Regions from separate parts of the Homo sapiens genome. Here regions 1, 2, 4, 5, 6 and 7 are each linked to region 3. Evidence: promoter capture Hi-C in 16 types of primary human blood cells and fetal thymus (Javierre and others, 2016). All regions are on one chromosome and are shown on one strand. Each heading gives the region's core, a stretch centred on a gene start or on the middle of the fragment in contact. The rest is flanking DNA. Distances are from core to core; before and after follow the strand shown.

Region 1 (2,700 bases), core at 139-2,638, 500 kb before region 3:
AACATGGAGCTGGCGAGTAACAGAATCAAGCCCTAACCCTTTGCCTGATTCCTAGGGTGTAATCTCTTAACCACTATGGTGCATTGCACCTGCTCACTCCAAGGCCTAAGAGGGAGAGGAGTGAAGGCCTAACAGGCACATCGTGATCGATGAGGAGGGCCTGGTGTGTGAGGGGTGTGCTGGGATTCCTGGGTCCCTTATGTAATTCAAACCCTGAGGTGGAAAGGAGGGAGGAAGTTTTGGATTTTAGGCAGAGTTGGGTGAACACCACTCCGTCTGGGCTGCTTTAAGAGCAGAGGACAGGGCCAGGAACACTGGCTCAAGCCTGTAATCCCAAGCTTTGGAAGGCTGAGAGGGAAGGATTGCTTGAACACTGGAGTTAGAGGCAAACCTGGGCGACATAGCTAGACCCCTCTCTACAAAACTTTATTTCTTTTTTGACACGGAGTCTTGCTCTGTCCCCAGGCTGGAGTGCAGTGGCGCGATCTTGGCTCACTGCAGTCTGTGTCTCCCGGGCTCAAGCAATTCTCCTGCCTCAGCCTCCCAAATAGTGGTGACTACAGGCGTGTGCCACCACGCCCGGCTAATTTTTGTATTTTTATTAGAGATGAGGTTTCACCATGTGCCCAGGCTGGTCTCGAACTCCTGACCTCAAGTGATCCACCCACCTCAGCCTCCCAAAGTGCTGGGATTACATGCGTGAGCCACCGTGCCCGGCCTCTACAAAACTTTAAAAAAAAAAAAAAATTGGCCGGTTGCAGTGGCTCACGCCTGTAATTCCAGCACTTTGGGAGGCCGAGGCAGGCGGATCGCTTGAACCCAGCAGTTGGAAACCAGGCTGGGCAACATGAGGAAACCTTGTCTCTACAAAAAAATTAAAAACAAATCAGCCAGGCGCGGTGGTCTGCGCCTGTGGTCCCAGCTACTAGGTGTAAGCCACCAAGGCTGACTGATTTTTAAAAATTTAGCTGGGAGGCTGAGGCGGGAGGATCTCTTGAGCCCAGAAGGTCGAGACTGCAGTGAGCCGCGATGGCGCCACTGCAGTCCAGCCTGAACGATAGAGCGAAATCTGCCTCAAAAACAAACCAACAAAACACCAGCAGAAGACAACTGAGGGAGGAAAAGGAAAATGGCACCGAAGTTGTTTTTATGTCGCCGCAACAGTGACACCCGCCGCCAGCTTGTCTTGACAGCGGAGATCCCGAACGCACTGCAATTTACAGCTCCAGGGGGCGTTCCTACAACCCCGACAGGTTAGCCGAGGGGCGGGGCGGGCGGGCCCCGGGGCGGGTTCGGCGTCCTCCTGCGCCAATGGGAGCACCCAAGCCCCTGCGCGGGAAGATGCCGATTGGTCAGTGCCGCCGGACGCTGCGGGGAGCTCGTGCGCGCGGCGCTTTTGGGGCGGAGCCTGCCACCGGCCGCCAGGGGGCGCGCCGAGACCACACTTTCATGGAGGCGGTGAAGGCGGAAGCGTGGGAGGGGGCCGCGGTGGCCCAGGACCTGCTGGCTCTGGGGTAAAAGGGTGTGCGGTGAGGCTGGTGGGTGCAGGAAGGCCAGGTCTGCCCCCTGGACGCGGACGAAAAGGGATTCCCAGTGACATCCCCGCCCCCTCCCGCTGCCTCGGTCCCCACAGGTATGGAGGTGTCCCGGGGGCGGCGTCGCGGGGCGCCTCATGCCCAGACTTCAGGGGGCTGTGCGTGCGGCTGGCGGCGGAGCTGGCGACGCTGGGCGCCCTCGAGCAGCAGCGAGAGGCGGGCGCGGAGGTGCTGAGCGCCGGCGACGGTAAACACGGAGCGGGAGGGTGGCAGGGGGGCCGCCACGGGGCCACCGAGCCCTGACACCCCTGTCCTCGCAGGCCCTGGCGCGGAGGAGGACTTTCTGCGGCAGCTCGGCAGCCTGCTGCGGGAGCTGCACTGCCCGGATCGCGCGCTCTGCGGCGGGGATGGCGCGGCTGCGCTTCGGGAACCCGGTGCCGGACTGCGCCTGCTGCGTGAGTCCCGGGATGCAGAAGTGGCAAGGCCATGGCCTCCGGAGCGGCGGGCTCTGACTTTTTAGGGGAAATCGAGGTTCCCAAGGGGTGTGGTCAGAACTTTGGGGCGGCCCAGAGGGTACGAGGTGGGTGGGGTGAGCATGTTGGGGCAAGCAGAGCGCTCTAAAATGGGCGGGGGTAGAATTTCGTTTTATTTTTTATTTATTTTATTATTATTATTTTTGAGATGGAGTTTCACTCTTGTTACCCAAGCTGGAGTGCAGTGGCGTGATCTCGGCTCACTGCAACCTCCACCTCCCAGGTTCAAGTGATTCTCTTGCCTCAGCCTCCCGAGTAGCTGGGATTACAGGCGCGCGACACCACACTCGGCTATTTTTAGTAGAAACGGGGTTTCACCATGTTAGCCAGGCAGGTCTCGAACTCCTGACCCCAGGTGATCTGTCCACCTCGGCCTCCCAAAGTGTTGGGATTACAGGCGTGAGCCCACCACGCCCGGCCCGGGGTTAGAATTTTAATTGGAGGGCCTAGGAGCTCAAGTGGGTTGGATTAGGAGGAAGGCTTGAGGTTTCAAAGTGGGCAGGAGTGGAATTCGTAGGAGGGGACAGGGTCTCAAGGTGGGGCTTACTCTGGAAGGCTTTAGGTGGGGGGGACTAGAAGGTGGAGGATTTTGTTTTGTTTTGTTTTTAAGTGGAGGTGGGGTCTCCCTATGT
Region 2 (2,875 bases), core at 308-2,807, 320 kb before region 3:
CCCAGCACTTTGGGAGGCCGAGGCAGGCAGATCACTTGAGGTCAGGAGTTCAAGACAAACCTGGCACTGGGCATGGCAGCAGGTGCCTGTAATCCCAGCTACTCAGGAGGCTGAGGCAGGAGAATGGCTTGAATCCAGGAGGTGGAGGCTGCAGTGAGCCAAGATCGCACCACTGCACTCCAGCCTGGGCGACAGAATGAGAATCCATCTCAACAACAACAACAACAAAAACACAAAAAATTAGCCAGGCAGACAGGCACAGTGGCTCAGGCCTATAATCCCAGCACTTTGGGAGGCGGAGGCAGAGGTTTGCTTGAGCTCAAACGTTTAAGACCAGCTTGGGCAACTTTTGTAGAGACGGTGAAACCCTGTCTCTACAAACAATACAAAAATTAGCCAGGCGTGGTGGTGCACACCTGTAGTCCCAGCCACTCAACAAGCTGCGGTGGGAGGATGGCTTGAGCCCAGGAGGCAGAGGTTTCAGTGAGCTGCATGTGCACCACTGCACTCCAGCGTGGATAACAGAGCGAGACCCTGTCTCTAACAAAAAACAGAGAGTGGCCAGGTGCGGTGGCTCAGGCCTGTAATCCCAGCACTTTGGGTTGGGAGGCCGAGGTGGGTGGATCACTTGAGGCCAGGAGTTAGAGACCAGCCTGGCCATCATGGTGAAACCCATCTCTACTAAAAATACAAAAATTAGCTGGGTGTGGTGACCCACGCCTGTGGTCCCAGCTACTTTGGAGGCTAAGGCAGGAGAATCGCTTGAACCCGGGAGGCGGAGGTTGCAGTGAGCTGAGATTGCAACACTGCACTCCAGCCTGGGCAACAGACTAAGACTCCATCTCAAAAAAAAAAAAAAAAAAATTAGCTGGGTGTGGTTACCCACACCTGTGGTCTCAGCTACTTGGCAGGCTTAGCCTCCTTCACTTGAACCTGAGAGGCGGAGGTTGCAGTGAGCTGAGATTGCGCCATAGCATTCCAGCCTGGGTGACAAGTGTGAAACTCCATCTCAAAAAAAAAAAAAAAAAAAGACAGAGGAAGAGATGATGGAGTCTCGCTATGTTGCCCAGACTGGTCTTCAACTCCTGACCTCAAGTGATGCTCCTGCCTCAGCCCCCCAAAGCACTGGGGATACAGGCATGAGCCACCACACCCGGCCCAGAACATCCTTTGGCTCCCTCAGTGTGCCCTTAGATTGCCAGATTATTTCCTTCTGGAGGGGGCTCTCATCTCCCCGCAGGATGCCTTCTCACCCGGAATGCCCTGATCCTCCATGTACTCCCCAAACAGAGCTGGCACCCGACCCCCAGGGCACAGCTGACTCTCGAGTGGCCCCTACCCTCCAGAGTGCTCCTCGTGTGTCCCTGCCTTCCCCCTGACCCCTGGCCCTGTGTGCCCACAGTCCTTCCTGTACCTGGGCTGGTATATGGTGATGTCCCTCTTGGGACACTACAACAACTTCTTCTTTGCTGCCCATCTCCTGGACATCGCCATGGGGGTCAAGACGCTGCGCACCATCCTGTCCTCTGTCACCCACAATGGGAAACAGGTGTGGGGAGGACCTGGCTGTGGGGCGTGGGCCAGCAGGGACCAGCGTGGCAGTGGGTGGTGAAGGGATAAGGGCCGGGCAGCTGGGCTGAGGAGGGGCAAGGCCAGGTGCGCTGAGCCGGGGGTGTGTGGGGCAGCAAGGTAGAGCCACAGGGACTGAACCGGGGCCAGGACCCAGCATGGGCAGGGTGGGGGGAGGGCAAGCCCAGGGCGGAGCTGACCTGGCCCCATCCTGCCCCCAGCTGGTGATGACCGTGGGCCTTCTGGCGGTGGTCGTCTACCTGTACACCGTGGTGGCCTTCAACTTCTTCCGCAAGTTCTACAACAAGAGCGAGGATGAGGATGAACCTGACATGAAGTGTGATGACATGATGACGGTGAGCCCCTCCCCTAGCACTCTGGGACCCTTCCTTCTCGCATCTGTTGAAGGAGTTAATAATGGTACCTCCAGGCCGGGCGTGGTGCCTCCAGCCTGCAATCCCAGTGCGTCGGGAGGCCGAGGCGGGACGATTACTTGAGTCCAGGAGTTGGAAACCAGCCTGGGCAACAAAGCAAAAATCCTGTCTCTATAAAAAAAAATTTAAACGTTAGCTGGGTGTTGTGTTGTGTGCCTGGAGGCTAAGGCAAGAGGATCACTTGGTCCCAGCAGTTTGAGGCTTTAGTGAGCTACGAATGGGCCACTACACTCCATCCTGGCAGACAGACAGAGACCCTATCTCTAAAAAATGAAAATAGTACCTACAGTTTGGCAAGCTGATGCATGCCAGGCACATTTTTTTTTTTTTTTTTTGAGATGGAGTCTCACTGTGTTGCCAGGCTAGAGTGCAGTGGCGCAATCTCAGCTCACTGCAACCTCCGCTTCCTGGGTTCAAGTGATTCTCCTGCCTCAGCCTCCCAAGTAGCTGGGACTACAGGCGCATGCCACCACACCCAGATACTTTTTGTATTCTTAATTTTCTTTCTTTCTTTTTTTTTTGAGACAGAGTCTGGCCCAGGCTGGAGTGCAGTGGCGTGATCTCAGCTCACTGCAAGCTCCGCCTCCCGGGTTCATGCCATTCTCCTGCCTCTGCCTCCCGAGTAGCTGGGACAACAGGCGCCCGCCACCACGCCTGGCAAATTTTTTGTATTTTTAGTAGAGCCGGGGTTTCACCATGTTAGCCAGGATGGTCTCGATCTCCTGACCTGGTGATCCGCCCGCCTGGGCCTCCCAAAGTGCTGGGATTACAGGCATGAGCCACTGCGCCCGGCCAATTTTTGTATTCTTAGTAGAGACGGAGTTTCACCATGTTGGCCAGGATGGTCTCCATCTCTGCCTGTGCCGTCGTGA
Region 3 (2,700 bases), core at 124-2,623:
CTGGGTGGTGTGAGGGATTGGGGCAATGAGCCGAGGGCCCTGGGGTGACTGTTTCCCCTTTGCCACCTCCCCCCAGTGTGGGATGTGGAACAAGTCCGTCTCTCTCCTCCCCTCCACCCTTTCCCCCATCTCACCTGAGCCTCCTGCACCTTCCCTGCCTGGGTCTCCAGAGGGTGAGAGGCTGGGGGAGGGGAGCAGAGGTGGTTACAGTGGGGAGAACGATTAAGGGGGGAATAAAGGGGTTCAAATGGTCAGTGAGGGGGCAAGAACACCCACCAACCTAGTTACACTGGGATGGGATGGTGGTAAAAATGGAGCAGAGGGAGGGAGGGGACGGAGAAAAGATCTTATCTACATGCAAAGTGATGCCGGGAGAGGTGATTAGTGAGGGGCAGAGAGGCTGGAGAGGAAGATTTAGGGGGACAGGGAGAAAGTAGGGGCTTTTGCCCAGGCTGGTCTTGAACTCCTGGGCTCAAGCGATCCAACCACCTTGGCCTCCCAAAGTACTGGGATTACAAGCATGAGCCATTGTTTCTGGCCCTGACTTACTTTCTTTCTTTTTTACTTTTTAGAGAAAGGGTCTCGCTCATGTCACCCAGGTTGGAGTGCAATAGTGCGATCATAGCTCACTGCAGCCTCAAATTCCTGGGCTCAAGCGATCCTCCTCCTCCTACCTAGGGGATTCAGGGCATGAAGGAACACTCAGGAGGAGTTAGGAAGGACACGACAGTGTGTGAGTGTGTGTGCGGGGAGGGTTAGATTTACAAGGCAGAGGGAAGTTTAGAAAGGAAAAGAGAAGGGAAGAGACGCTTTGGCTGGGAGGCAGGTTTAGGAGGGAGGTGCAGTGGTGCAGTGGAGGCGGTAGGTTTAGGAGAGGCGCGGAACAAGGGGAAGCCATAGGAGGGGTCAGCAGGGGTCCCTCAGCATCCTCTGGTTGCCTCTAACAATCAGGTACCCATAGCAAGCGGGACCGGGGCAACTTATGTTCTTTGCAGCGAGGGACCTTAGCAACCAAGGTGCGAGAAACACGCGATCATTGGCAACTTGGCAAGTGGATGTGGTAAACGAACCCTGAACACACTGCGACCCAGAAACCCACCAGCCTAGCGATACAGATCGCTAAGCAACAGCCCTCAGAATCCCACTCCCCGAAGCGCTCCCTACTTCCCGCCCCACCGCGGCCACCCTTGGGCCCCGGGGCCTGCAGCATTCAGCCAGGCCCCGGCGCGGCCCGACCCTCCTACCCGGATCCCCGACTCACGGTCTGGCTCTGCCATGGGCGCGGTGCTGAAGCCCTTGAGGCTGTCACCGACCGCTCTGTCCCGTCACCAACCACTGTGTCCCGTCACCGACTGCTCTGTCCTGTCACCGACTGCTCTGTCCCGTGACGGCACCAGAAATGGGAGTGGCCGTGATAGGGCACAGAACTACAACTCTCAGCAGACATTGCGGCCGCAGACGCGCTTTCGTACAACACCCAGAGCGCCCCAGTTAGGTAAGAAAGCGCGCGAGGACCGGACTACGAGTCCCAGAAGGCGTGGCGTCAGCAGCCATGTTGGTAAAGGGCGCCCGGAAAATGTGGGAACGGCTAGAGAGTTGTAGTCCTCCCGAATACTCTGATTGGTCAGGATGCAGTACGAGGGCGGGGTGTGAGCGATTCAGCATATTATCATTGGGTGAATCAGGGGGCGTGGTGGGGAATTTCCCGCAGGGCGGAAGCTCCAGAACTCCCGGCAAAGCCCAGCTACAGGCGGGCGACTGCGGGGGGCCCCTGAGGCGGCGGGGGCCATGGCTGGGGTCGCGTGCTTGGGAAAAGCTGCCGACGCAGATGAATGGTGCGACAGCGGCCTGGGCTCCCTGGGTCCGGACGCAGCGGCCCCCGGAGGACCTGGGTTGGGCGCGGAGTTGGGCCCGGGGCTGTCGTGGGCTCCCCTCGTCTTCGGCTACGTCACTGAGGATGGGGACACGTGAGTGAACCTTAGGCTGCCAAACGGAGCCCTAGGACCCGGCGTCACATTCCTCATTAATCTCTGATCCCTGAGGCTTCCTAACCTCATACTCCTAAATCTGACTTCCGATGCTGAACTTCCTGACCTCTAACCCCCGAGTCCTAACTTTTAACAAAACCAATCTTCTATCTAGCTATGATCCTAACCCAATCATTTCTTACCTTCTTTTCTTGAACTATGATTCTCAGCTCCTGGAATCCACATTGTATCCACTGATACCCAAACCTGACTCCAGTCCTGAGACTTCTGTTAGAACTGTGGCTTCTCCTGACTTCTAACCTCCAAATATGATCTTTGATTCTTAGTTCCCGATTTGAGCCCTAGAGTTTGATTTCCGAAATTAATACTTGGTCCCTGACTCTAAGATCCTGTCTTCTGAGCAGTGTTCTTCAAATCTTAAATTCAAAGAGAGAGAATGTAAGCTCTTCTATGTTGAATTCCTAATTAAAGTAAAAAAATAGGAAAATTAAAAAAAAGAATGTTAGCTCCATGAGACCAAGGATTCATCTGTTAAACAAATATTCTTTACACATTACCACGTTCCAGGCTCCGTTTAGGTGCTAGTGATAAAGGCAGTGAAGAAAACAAACAAAAACTTAAGCCCTTGTGGAGCATACATTTTAGTGGAGCTAAATAAACAGATTGATAAGACCACAAGGAAGGAAAGAAATGGAAAGACAGGAAGAAACAA
Region 4 (2,781 bases), core at 268-2,767, 280 kb before region 3:
CAAGGAAGTTAAGGCTCAGAGAGGAAATGTGAGTTCCGGGGCAAGTCAACTCAAACCTAGGCCTTTGGGCGGGACCCCACTGCCGTCCCACGCCAACCTAGGAGGCAGGGCAGAGATCTCACGGGTTGTGGAGATTTGGAGGGGACAGAGGGGCCCAGGGCACCTGTTCTGGGGAGCAGAGGTCATTATTGGGGCATCTGGAATATTAATTTGGGGATCAGGGAATTTAGGAGTTTATATTAAAGGAGCAGAGAGTGAAACTGGGTGAGCCAAAGAGCAGAATGGTGAGAGCTTCGTTTCAAGGGAGTTGATTTCAAATTCAGTTACTATGAAGAGATCAATTTGGGGTACTCTTGGTCAGAAATGGGAATTTTAGATTGGAGATTAGATTAGAGGCTGCTCTGGTCAGAAAAGTGGGACTTAGGAGTGAGGATCATGGTAGGGTTAGCCCAGTCAAAAATGGGGGTCCAGGATGGGAGGTCGGGTTATGGTGAGAAATGGAAGTTCAAGGTTAGAACTGAGGGTGCCAAGACCAGGCGCGGTGGATCACACCTGTAATCCCAGCACTTTCGGAGGCCGAGGCGAGTGGATCACAAGGTCAGGAGTTCAAGACCAGCCTGGCCAAGATGGTGAAACCCCATCTCTACTAAAAATACAAAAATTTGCCGGGCAGGGTGGTGAGCGCCTGTAATCCCAGCTACTCGGGAGTCTGAGGCAGAGAATTGCTTGAACCCAGGAGGCAGAGGTTGCAGTGAGCTGAGATCATGCCACTGCACTCCAGCCTGGCAACAGAACAAGACTCCATCTCAAAAAAGAAAAAGAAAAGAAAAAAAAAGAACTGAGGGTACCCCCATCAAGAAATGGGGACTCCGGGTTAGGGGCTGGGCTGGGTGCCAGGGTGGGTCTGAGGTTCATCACCAGAGATAACTCCCATGGTAGGCCACGATGTTGGCGTGCCGGCAAGTTTTCAATATGAGGATTTCCTTCTGAAGGGTGGAGACATCATCATCTGTGAGGAGGGCGGGAGAGAAAAGGCAGCTCGCATGGGGAGAGAGCTACAGGGGAGGTGATCCCAGTGTCCCAGGAGGCGAAGGTGGGGATGTGGGGAAGGAGCTCCATGTTCCCTCCTCACCAGGCTCCATCTTCACCATCTTCAGTGCCACCAGGTCCCCTGACACCTTGTCTCGAGCCTTGCAAAGGGGAAGTTGGCAGTCAGGCAGGCTCCATTTGCCAGAGTCCCTCCACAGCATCCCTGAGTCAAGGTCAAGAACTGGGACCCCCTCTTGCAGCCTCCTCCCTGCCGAGGGCTTGCCTTAAAGGTCACTGGTTGTAGGGTGTTGGGGACAGAGGGGCTTCCTCACCTTAAAGACTTCCCCATACGTGCCGCCACCCAGCCGCTGTAGCAGGTCATAGTGGTCCCGGGGGTCTCTATTGAAAATGTCAGGGTCCACGACGTCCATCCCTGGGGGCCTGAGCTGGGCCTGCGCCCAGGGGCCAGCAGGGCCTCAGGGCTCAACTTCTGGCACCTCCCTCCGTCCCCAGAAGCCCTGCACCCGCCTTGCCTCCGCGGGCTGTGGCCTCCCCCCTCCTCACTCTCGCTTCCTGCCCCAGCTGCACTGCACGACTGTGCAACGGGCTCCACCCCCCCGTCCCCTGGGCTCTGAGAGCCTCTGAGGGGCAGCTTGTCTTGGGACCCAAGGGACCACCCTCAACCTCCAAGGCCCAGGGCTGGATGTAAATGTGATGCAAATGATCTTAATCGTAACTGGGTTGGAGGGGGGTGCCTTAGAACCCCCGCCCCCGTCTCCTAGGTAGTGTCTAAACCTCTGCTGGGTGCTTGAAGGTTTGGCCACAACCCGAAGGCGGCAGGTCTGCAAAGGGATGGCTATGCAGTGTACATGCCTGTTCACCTGTCACATACATGCACTTGGGTTACCTCCTCTGCACTGCGCAGGCGTGTAGACGTGCATCTGCCTGGATACCTGTGTGCACAGTACACACGTGGATGTACCCAGGACATATACCTCCACATGCATGGCACATAACTGCATTTTGTAGGCCTGCAGTGTACAAAACCTATACATAATATATAATTCATGGCAGTACAAATGGGACGCTCGCCCTCAGCTCCAAGACCGGAACCTAATGGAGACGGGGCGCGATCCGGCGAAGTCCAGGAGCCCTCACCCCAGCCCCTGCCCGGCAGAGCACAGTAGCTTTGTGGGACCCTCCTCCTGGAGCTGGGGACCAAGGGCTGAGACTTGAAACTGGAGAGCTCAGGATCCTGCACCAGGCGCCCAGGCCTGTGGCAAGAGGGACCTCAGAACACCTCCCTCGGAACTTGGCCATGGCCTAAACGTAAGGCTGCTGCGTGCATTCCCGCAGAGCTCCGTGGCCTCATGGCCGCGCGCAATACAACGCGCGCGCACGCCGCCAGAGCTCCGGGTGCTTCCCGGTGAGTTCGCGCGCGCACGCTCCCGCGCTACCGGCACTGGAACTGGGTCTGTGAGGCCCGGGAAAAGCTTAGCCCCGCCCCCTCGCCACGAGAGGCGCCTGCGCACTGGGATCCAGTAAGATTTTTCTCACGCTGTCTGTCCAGCTTGAGTGGCGCGAATGCGCACGCGCCAATTGCGCCTGCGAGGAAGAAGTCACGTGGCAGCCGGAAAGCGTGGCGGCTGCTGCTAGAGCCTTTCCCTTTACCGCACCCAAGGAGCTGGAGCGACAACAACGACGTCGTTTCCGTTTCCACCACCTCTTCCTGTTCCCGTCCTTGAGGACGCC
Region 5 (2,904 bases), core at 243-2,742, 360 kb before region 3:
GTTTAAAATAAATTTTATTCCTCAGGAATATGAAGTTTTGAAAATGAGAATGTTGTTATGAAAGGGATTGCTGTCTCCCAACATATTTGCAACCCAGTCCTCGCCTAAATTCATGACCTAATCAAATAGATATTTGAAATATCTTTCAAATCTCAGACCCCTTGCATGTCTTGAGGAGTCAGTGCTATTCAAAGCAGACAAAAGGTTTGTCTCTCACTTATTTGCACATGTCTATAACAGGTGTTGTCAGTTGCCAGAATTTTTTTTACAGGAGCTGTGTATCTTTTATTTTTGCATATAGCCCAATTTAAATTAACACAATTTAATTTAACAATTTAAATTAACACAAATAAAGGAGTTAGAAAGCAGGGTTGATGGGAAAACCTGTACCTTTGCTTATAAAATTTTGAATATTTGAGTATGCTTTGTCTATGTCATGAAACTAGGCAAAATGGGCCTTCTGTTGAGCCAACCTGATAGAGCAATTGTGAACTGACTGTAAAAAAGTTAAGGGGAAAGAAAAACGGGGGGCAAAAATACTTTCAGGGGCTGTTAAAACCTTCCTGTGCAACATGATGTTGCTATAAACATTTAAAAGGACTTGGCTGGGCACTGTGGCTCATGCCTGTAATCCCAGCACTTTAGGAGGCTGAGGCAGGAGGATCACTTGAGCCCAGCAGTTCAAGACAAGTCTGGGCAACATAAGGAGACCCTGTCTCTACCAAAAAAAAAAAAAATCATATACTACAGTATAATAAACCTCCAATCATATACTACAGTATAATAAACCTCCAATCATATACTACAGTATAATAAACCTCCAATCATATACTACAGTATAATAAACCTCCAATCATATACTACAGTATAATAAACCTCCAATCATATACTACAGTATAATAAACCTCCAATCATATACTACAGTGTAATAAACCTCCAATCATATACTACAGTGTAATAAACCTCCAATCATATACTACAGTGTAATAAATCTCCAATCATATACTACAGTGTAATAAACCTCCAATCATATACTACAGTGTAATAAACCTCCAATCATATACTACAGTGTAATAAACCTCCAATCATATACTACAGTGTAATAAACCTCCAATCATATACTACAGTGTAATAAACCTCCAATCATATACTACAGTGTAATAAACCTCCAATCATATACTACAGTGTAATAAACCTCCAATCATATACTAAAGTGTAATAAACCTCCAATCATATACTACAGTGTAATAAACCTCCAATCATATACTACAGTGTAATAAACCTCCAATCATATACTACAGTGTAATAAACCTCCAATCATATACTACAGTGTAATAAACCTCCAATCATATACTACAGTGTAATAAACCTCCAATCATATATTACAGTATAATAAACCCCCAACTACCCATCACTCAGCTTTAACAGTTTGCTTTCACAGAACAATGTTTTTTAAATAGTGGGAACCAACCCATCAGACAGACGTTCATGAATCAGTTTCACGCAGAGGTTCTCATTGTAATTGTACACTGGCATGCCTGGGGAGCTTTAAAAGAGACTTAAGCCCAGGTTTTGCCTTTACAGGTTCTAATTCAATTGATCTGGGGTTGGGCCTGAGCACTGGGGTTTTTAAAAGCCTCCTAGTTGTCCTGATGTGCAGCCAAGGTTGAGAGGATGAGAAGCACACACTTCTTCTTTTGTAGTTAACTAGAGCAGTACAGGACAGAAAAGAACAGAATGCATGGCACAGAGTAAGGCAATGTGAAACTTCTCTTTCGGGAATAGGTGAATATAATTTCAGATTGAACACATGTATCAGGTCTCAATGTAAAAAGGATTTCCTCGGCTGGGTGTGGTGGCTTACACCTGTAATCCCAGCACTTTGGGAGGCCGAGGCAGGTGGATCACAAGGTCAGGAGTTGGAGACCAGCCTGTCCAATATGGTGAAACCCTGTCTCTACTAAAAATGCAAAAAAATTAGCCGGGCGTGGTGGCGCATGCCTGTAATCCCAGCTACTCAGGAGGCTGAGGCAGGAGAATTGCTTGAACCTGGGAGGCAGAGTTTGCAGTGAACTGAGATCATGCCACTGCACTCCAGCCTGGGTGACAGAGCAAGACTGTATCTCAAAAAAAAAAGGATTTCCTACCATAGATTGCAGTCAGAAAAGATTAAAAAATTACTGCACAAGAATATAAACTTCACAAGGGCAGGGGCTGGACATACGGCTCATGTCTGTAATCCCAGCACTATGGGAGGTCAAGGTAGGAGGGTTGCTTGAGGCCAGGAGTTCGAGACCAGCCTGGGCTGGTCTCAACAAAAAAATTAAAAATTGGCCGGATGTGGTGGCTCACACCTATAGTTCCAGCTACCTGGGAGGCTGAGGTGGGAGGACCACTTGAACCCAGGAGGTCAAGGCTGCAGTGAGCTATGATCATGCCACAGTACTCCAACCTAGGCAACAGAGGGAGACCTTGTCAAAAAAAAAAAAAAATCCCCCCCAAGGCCGGGGACTGTTTTTTTTTTTTTTACTACTGTATCCCCAGAGCCTAGAATACTGCATGACACATAGTAAGAACGCAACAAATTTGTTGTAGCAAAGAGGATGTGACAATCTTAATCTCGTGAGGATGTAGTATACACTCAATAAAATATGTTGAATAAATGAACAAGTGACCAATCCATATGTTCCCTGGCCTTTAGTAGGTGCTCAATAAATATTTGTTGGATAAATGCATGAATATCCCCAGCACATAGGAGGAATTTGATAAAATTGTTTGGAAACTAACGAGGAACTGAATCTCTATTTCTCCCTGCTACATAGTTGGTGGTCAATATACAAATTTGTTGGAAAAAACTGAATGAATAAATGACGCTCCACCACATTTGACACATAGCAGGCCCTC
Region 6 (2,860 bases), core at 1-2,500, 450 kb before region 3:
AATAACTTTCAACAAACAATTACTGAGTACCCGCGTTGTTCTGGTTGTGTGTGCAGAAAATAGATGAGCTGTAGCGACCTGTTCCCTGCCCTCCCAGTGCTCAGAAATTGTGAACAAACTGCCTTTAGTGAAGTACATAGTTTTACAATTAAGGAGTGGGAAAACTATTTTTGGCAGCAGGAACAGCATGTGCAAAGGTCCTGAGGTTAACATGAGCTTGGCTTGTTGCAGTAGCAGAAAGAAGCCACAGTGTGGAACAGGGTGAGCAGGCTGGAGTAGTGGTTGGTGAGGAAAGAGAGGGGATGGGAACAGCTCGTGTGAGGCCTTGTGGGCCATGGGAGAGGTCTAGTTTTGTTTGTTTGTTTGTTTTTTGTAGAGACGAGGTCTCATTATATTACACAGGCTGGTCTCAAACTCCTGGGGCTCAAGTGATCCTCCTGCCTCAGCCTCCCAAAGTGCTGAGATTAAAGTGAAGTGTGAGCCACTGCTCCTGGCCAGGTTCTAGTTTTTATCCTGAGTGAGATGGGCTCACAGGAGATTTTGAGCAGGGCAGGGAAGTGACCTGACGCAGGATCACAGAATTCTTAGGCTGTCTCTGGGAACAGACTACGGTCAGGGGACAGAGCCAGAGCAGGGAGACCAGAGAAGAGACTGCCATGATGTTACAAATGGGAGATGACAGTGGACAGGACCAGGAGGGGACTGTGGAGTTGGGAAGAGTAGTAGATTCTGGTGGGGTCCTGAGGGTAGAGCCAACAGGATTTGCTGACAGATTGGCTGTGGGGTGAGAGAAGGGGAGGGGTTGAGGATGATGCCATGATTTTTTGCCCCAAGCAACTGGAAGGATGGAAGTGCTGAAACAGCCTCATTGTCTGGAGTATCACCCAAGGTTTGTGGTCTCACAGCCACAGAGAACAAGGACGCAGACACACAAAGAGTGAGGTTAAGAGGGGACATTTAATAGGCGAAAGAAGGAGCTCTCTACTGCAGAGAAGGGTCCCAGAAAAATGGGTTGAAATGCAGGGGGTTCCATGGTGAAATGCAGGGGGCTTTACAGATGAGCTGGTGGGGAGGTGGTATCTGATTTACCTAGGGTGCAAAAGACTGGTTGGACCAGTTGTGCCATTTGCATAGGGCACAAATTTCTGGCTGCCTCCACCCTAAGCTTTTATTGTACAAGCGGGTCCTCTGCCTGAGCTGGCCATGTTGCCCATTCCTTTTCTGTACAACGTGGAAACAATAAATAAATAAATAACTAAATAAAGGGAAGATGGAGCCTCCATGTTGGACATGCGTAGCCCCAGGTATACCTTTTCTATCGGCACATTCCCCCATGCAAGCTTGTAGCTCGATTTTCCAGGCTGCTCTTTGTTAGAAAAGAAATTATTTTGGGGGCTGCTTTCCGTTAGAAAGGAAACTCTGCCGAGGACTCTGTTGCCCTTACTCTCTGCCTAAATAATTTTTTTCTACCTCTTGTATCAGTGCCATCAACCAAGTTAGGGGACAGTCAGTGTTGGCTCAGAAGGACAGGGATCTTAGGCTTTACTGCCAGTGCCTAGAACAGAGCCACTTACTACAGCCTTGCTGAATGGACAAGTAGGAATCCTTGGGGAGGCACTCGTTTGCAAAAACAGGCCTGTAGTTGAATACATGAGCCAAGGGCGTAGAGACGGGGCCTGGGCCATGTCCAAAGTGGGGACACGTGAGCATCATCAGCAGGTGGATGGTGTTTACAGCCGCAGACTGGATGAGTTCTGGGGAGGTCGGCTTGGGGTGAAGCTGGCAGCCATGATGGTCTCACCTCGTGGAAAGGTGGTCTGGCATTCTATCTGGGACAGGTTCAATTTGGGGGTTAGAGCTTTCTGGTCGGGGGGAATGTTAAGTCAGCAGTAGGTACAGGTGGAAAGGGTCTGGCCTGGAGACAGAGACAGGAAGGAGATAGGGATAGAGAGATAGAGAGGGAGAGGCAGGGACAGAGGTGAGAGAGATAGAGAGACAAAGACAGACAAAACCAAAAACAGGGACAGAGAGAGACAGAGAGGAGAGAGAGAATCAAAGACACAGAGGAGACAGATGACGGGGGACAGAAAAATGAGGAGGAATTTGCAGTGAGATTCTGCAGAGCAGGGAGGAGGGGGCAAGTGCAGAACTCAAGTCTAGACAGACGTCTTGGGGGCATGGCCCTGGGTGGCTGGGCCCACTCCAGACCTCTGTCTCCCCACTCCTAGGCCATGCTGCACCAGGAGGGCCACATGGACGACGCACTGTCGCTGACCCGCTGCCAGCAGGAGGAGTCCCAGGCCGCCCGCATGATCCACAGCACCAATGGCCTATACAACCAGTTCATCAAGTGAGCAACCTGCCCTCCCTGCTGGGGTGACTCCTGTGCTGTCCCATGCTCCGGGCATCCATACACTTGGCCTCTTTCATCTCTACCTCTGTTGCCCACACCCTTGTCTAACATATACATGGGCCAAGCGCAGTGGCTCACACCTGTAATCCCAAGACTTTGGGAGGGCAAGGCATGAGGATCGCTTGGGCCCAGGAGCTTGAGACCAGCCTGGGCAGCATAGGGAGACCCCGCCTCTACCAAAAAAAAAAAAAAAAAAAAAAAAATTAGGCTGGGCACAGTGGCTCATGCCTGTAATCCTAGCACTTTGAGAGGCTGAGGCGGGCAGATCGCTTGAGCCCAGGAGTTCGAGACCAGCCTGAGCAATATAGTGAAACCCTGTCTCTATAAAAAAAATAACAAAATATTGGCCAGGTGTGGTGGCACGTGCCTGTAGTCCCAGCTGCATGGGAAGCTGAGGAAGGAGGATTGCTTGAGCCGAGGGGGCAGAGGCTGCAGTGAGCCACTATA
Region 7 (2,987 bases), core at 306-2,805, 380 kb before region 3:
AAAAAAGTTAGGTAACAGGTGAGGCGTCTGTTGTTGGGGGTCAGAGGTCAGGGATTTGTGCCAGGCTGGGGTCACAGGATAGGGACTGGGTCTTAGGTTCAGGTTAGGGGCTATGGCTGGGATCAGTGTTCAGGGACTATATCCAAGGTTAGGGTCAGGCTGGGGTCAAATGGCAGCTGCTAGGTTGGAGATGCTGTTTGGGAGTCGGGCTGGGAACGGAGTTTGGGGCCTGTGTCAGAGGCCGGAGGTGGCATCAGAGCCCATCGCACCCCTGCAGTGTTCGCACAGCCCATTGTGAGCCGTGCACGGCCGGAGCTCCTGCAGTCCCACTTCATCCCAACTATCGGGCGGCTGCGCAAGAGGGCAGGGAAGGTGGTGTCCGAGGAGGAGCAGCTGCGCCTGGAGGCCAAGGCGGAGGCCCAGGAGGGCGAGCTGCTGGTGCGGGACGAGTTCTCTGTGCTCTGCCGGGACCTCTACGCCCTGTATCCGCTGCTCATCCGCTACGTGGACAACAACAGGTCAGCGGGGCCCCGCTGTCCCCATGCCCTCCGCCCCGACCTCCCACGTCCTCCAGCCCCATCTGATCTCCGCCTCCTGACTGGCTAGAAACTTCTTCCAATGCTCTGGCCCCACCAACCTTCTGACTCTTCCTCCTGGTTTCTTCTGGCTTTGAGCACATTGGTCCAACGACAGCCAGCCCACTTGTTTGTTTCTTTTTGTTTTTGGTTTTTGGGTTTTTTTTTGTTTGTTTTTGTTTTTGGAGACAGAGCCTCGCTTTATTGCCCAGGCTGGAATGCAGTGGCGCGATCTCGGCTCACTGTAACCTCCACCTCCCGGGTTCAAGTGATTCTCCTGCCTCAGCCTTCCCAGTAGCTAGGATTACAGGTGCATGCCACCACGCCCAGCTAAGTTTCGTATTTTTAGTAGAGACAGATTTTCACCATGTTGGCCAGGCTGGTCTTGAACTCTTGACCTCATGATTTGCCTGCCTCGGCCTCCCAAAGTGCTGGGATTACAGCTGTGAGCCAATGCAGCTGGCCAGTGTGATTTTTTTTAAATCATTCTCCTAATGCTGGACATTTAGATTGTGTCGATTTCTTTGTCACTATGCACAACACCGTAAGGAATAGTTTGCTTTTTTTTTTTTTTTTTTTATTGAGACAGGGTCTCTCTCTGTTGCCCAGGCTGGAGTGCTGTGGCATGATCATGGCTTGCTGCAGCCTCGGTTCCTGGGTTCAAGCGATCCTCTGCTTCTGCCCCTGAGTAGCTGGGATTATAGACTCACACCAACATGCTCGGCTAATTCTTGTATTTTTATGGGGTCTCACTATGTTGCCCAGGTTGGTCTTGAATTCCCGGGGTCAAGTGATCCTCCCACCTCAGCCTCCCAAAGTGTTGGGATTACAGAAGTGAGCCACCACACTTAGCTGCTTTTTTTTTTTTTTTAACACAACAATACACCATGAAAGACATATAGGCCGGGTGTGGTGGCTCATGCCTGTAATCCCAGCACTTTGGGAGGCCGAGGTGGGCAGATCACCTGAGGTCAGGTGTTTGAGACCAGCCTGGCCAACGTGGCGAAACCCTGTCTCTATTATGAATACAAAAATTAGCCAGGCGTAGTGACGCAGGCTTGAAATCCCAGCTACTCCAGAGGCTGAAGCAGGAGAATCGCCTGAGCCTGGGAGGCAGAGGTTGCACTGAGCTGAGATCGTGTCACTGCACTCCAGCCTAGGAACAGAGCGAGGCTCCACCTCAAAAAAAAAAAAAAAAAAAAAAAAAAGATGTATAGATTCACCTCTTTTGTCTTGGTGGTCGTGTGACATTCTCTGCTGTTGGATATAGTTCAATTTTTCAATCAGTAAATATGAACAAATTGTGGTTTATTCATACAACAGAAGACTCCACGGCAGTGGGAGTGAACAAGTTGTTTCTATGCACAATGTGATTGGCTTTCACAAATGTTAGGTGGAATGAAAGAAGCCAGAAAACCAAGAAATAAACTACATATTTTACCATCTGTTTAATGTTCACGAGCAGATAAGAATAAGTTTGGGGCCGGGTGCAGTGGCTTACAACTGTAATCCCAGCACTTTGAGAGACTGAGGCGGGAGGATCACTTGAGCTCAGGAATTTGAGACCAGCCTAGGCAACATGGCTAGACCCTGTCTCTACAAAAAAAGAAAAGAAATACAAAAATTAGTCAGGCATGGTGACACACACCTGTAGTCCTTGCCTCAGGCTGGGACTGGGAGGCTGAGGTGGGAGGATCGTTTGAGCCCAGGAGGTCAAAGCTGCAGTGAGCTATGATCACACCGCTGCACTCCAACCTGGGCAACAGAGATAGACCCTGTCTCAATAAGGTTTGTTTTTTTTTAATACAAGTAAATGAATAAAATAAAATATGTGAACCTACTTAGATTCTGACCCTGTCTCAAAAAAAAAAGAAATTTTATGCTGGGTGCAGTGGCTCGTGACTGTAATCCCAGCACTTTGGGTGGCCAAAGAGAGTGGATCACTCAAACTCAGTCTCAAACTCAGAAGTTTGAGACCAGCCTGGGCAACATGCAAAAACCCTGTCTCTACTGAAAATACAAAAATTAGCCGGGCGTGGTGGCGCATACCTGTAGTCCCAGCTAAGTACTCCTGAGTGGGAGGCTGAGGCAGGAGAATCACTTGGAACCTGGGAGGCAGAAGTTGCAGTGAGCTGAGATCACACCACTGCACTCCAGCCTGGGCGACAGAGCGAGACCCTGTCTCAAAAAAGAAAAAAAGAAAATTTTTTTTTTTTTTTTTGAGATGGAGTCTCGCCCAGGCTGGGGTGCAGTGGTGCGATCTCTGCTCACTGCAAGCTCCACCTCCCGGGTTCACGCCATTCTCCTGCCTCAGCCTCCTGAGTAGCTGGGACCACAGGTGCCTGCCACCACACCCGGCTAATTTTTTTGTATTTTTTAGTAGAGATGAGGTTTCACCGTGTTAGCCAGGAT

The links. Contacts are between HindIII fragments. The CHiCAGO score rates a contact against its expected background, and 5 or more counts as called.
Region 1: a contact is called between the fragment with the promoter of FAM98C here and the fragment with the promoter of SIRT2 in region 3, in 12 of 17 cell types (naive CD4 T cells, activated CD4 T cells, naive CD8 T cells and 9 more). The highest score is 11.0, in naive CD4 T cells.
Region 2: a contact is called between a fragment that was not itself captured here and the fragment with the promoter of SIRT2 in region 3, in 1 of 17 cell types (erythroblasts). The highest score is 5.1, in erythroblasts.
Region 4: the fragment with the promoter of MAP4K1 here is called in contact with the fragment with the promoter of SIRT2 in region 3 in 6 of 17 cell types (activated CD4 T cells, non-activated CD4 T cells, fetal thymus and 3 more); the score reaches 7.1 in activated CD4 T cells.
Region 5: a contact is called between a fragment that was not itself captured here and the fragment with the promoter of SIRT2 in region 3, in 12 of 17 cell types (total CD4 T cells, naive CD4 T cells, naive CD8 T cells and 9 more). The highest score is 9.1, in total CD4 T cells.
Region 6: a contact is called between a fragment that was not itself captured here and the fragment with the promoter of SIRT2 in region 3, in 4 of 17 cell types (non-activated CD4 T cells, total CD8 T cells, naive CD8 T cells and 1 more). The highest score is 7.3, in non-activated CD4 T cells.
Region 7: a contact is called between a fragment that was not itself captured here and the fragment with the promoter of SIRT2 in region 3, in 1 of 17 cell types (naive CD8 T cells). The highest score is 6.5, in naive CD8 T cells.

Annotation. Positions count from the first base shown.
Region 1 is chr19:38,401,705-38,404,404 of GRCh38, forward strand. FAM98C (family with sequence similarity 98 member C) reads left to right here and starts at 1,389. Exons shown (of 8, transcript NM_174905.4): 1 at 1,389-1,514; 2 at 1,634-1,782; 3 at 1,856-1,990. The coding sequence starts at 1,450. RefSeq lists silencers at 1,176-1,505, 1,696-1,895. The HindIII fragment of the contact is 11,725 bases long and covers 337-2,700 here.
Region 2 is chr19:38,578,580-38,581,454 of GRCh38, forward strand. RYR1 (ryanodine receptor 1) reads left to right here. Exons shown (of 106, transcript NM_000540.3): 100 at 1,403-1,549; 101 at 1,791-1,925. Among named protein-coding and RNA genes, the nearest start is that of MAP4K1-AS1, 16 kb to the right of the region's middle. RefSeq lists an enhancer at 972-1,473. The HindIII fragment of the contact is 8,029 bases long and covers 1-2,875 here.
Region 3 is chr19:38,898,245-38,900,944 of GRCh38, forward strand. It overlaps SIRT2 (sirtuin 2), which reads right to left and starts at 1,374. Exons shown (of 16, transcript NM_012237.4): 1 at 1,262-1,374; 2 at 135-181. The coding sequence starts at 1,277. It overlaps NFKBIB (NFKB inhibitor beta), which reads left to right and starts at 1,725. Exons shown (of 6, transcript NM_002503.5): 1 at 1,725-1,967. The coding sequence starts at 1,789. The HindIII fragment of the contact is 23,515 bases long and covers 1-2,700 here.
Region 4 is chr19:38,616,436-38,619,216 of GRCh38, forward strand. MAP4K1 (mitogen-activated protein kinase kinase kinase kinase 1) reads right to left here and starts at 1,518. Exons shown (of 31, transcript NM_001042600.3): 1 at 1,362-1,518; 2 at 1,133-1,190; 3 at 919-1,009. The coding sequence starts at 1,460. It overlaps EIF3K (eukaryotic translation initiation factor 3 subunit K), which reads left to right and starts at 2,753. Exons shown (of 8, transcript NM_013234.4): 1 at 2,753-2,781. RefSeq lists an enhancer at 2,042-2,091. The HindIII fragment of the contact is 13,708 bases long and covers 1-2,520 here.
Region 5 is chr19:38,539,590-38,542,493 of GRCh38, forward strand. The region is part of intron 84 of RYR1 (ryanodine receptor 1); the gene reads left to right. Among named protein-coding and RNA genes, the nearest start is that of MAP4K1-AS1, 55 kb to the right of the region's middle. The HindIII fragment of the contact is 8,158 bases long and covers 1-2,904 here.
Region 6 is chr19:38,449,536-38,452,395 of GRCh38, forward strand. RYR1 (ryanodine receptor 1) reads left to right here. Exons shown (of 106, transcript NM_000540.3): 12 at 2,229-2,350. Among named protein-coding and RNA genes, the nearest start is that of RYR1, 17 kb to the left of the region's middle. The HindIII fragment of the contact is 175 bases long and covers 1,164-1,338 here.
Region 7 is chr19:38,518,937-38,521,923 of GRCh38, forward strand. It overlaps RYR1 (ryanodine receptor 1), which reads left to right. Exons shown (of 106, transcript NM_000540.3): 67 at 278-518. Among named protein-coding and RNA genes, the nearest start is that of MAP4K1-AS1, 76 kb to the right of the region's middle. The HindIII fragment of the contact is 7,673 bases long and covers 1-2,987 here.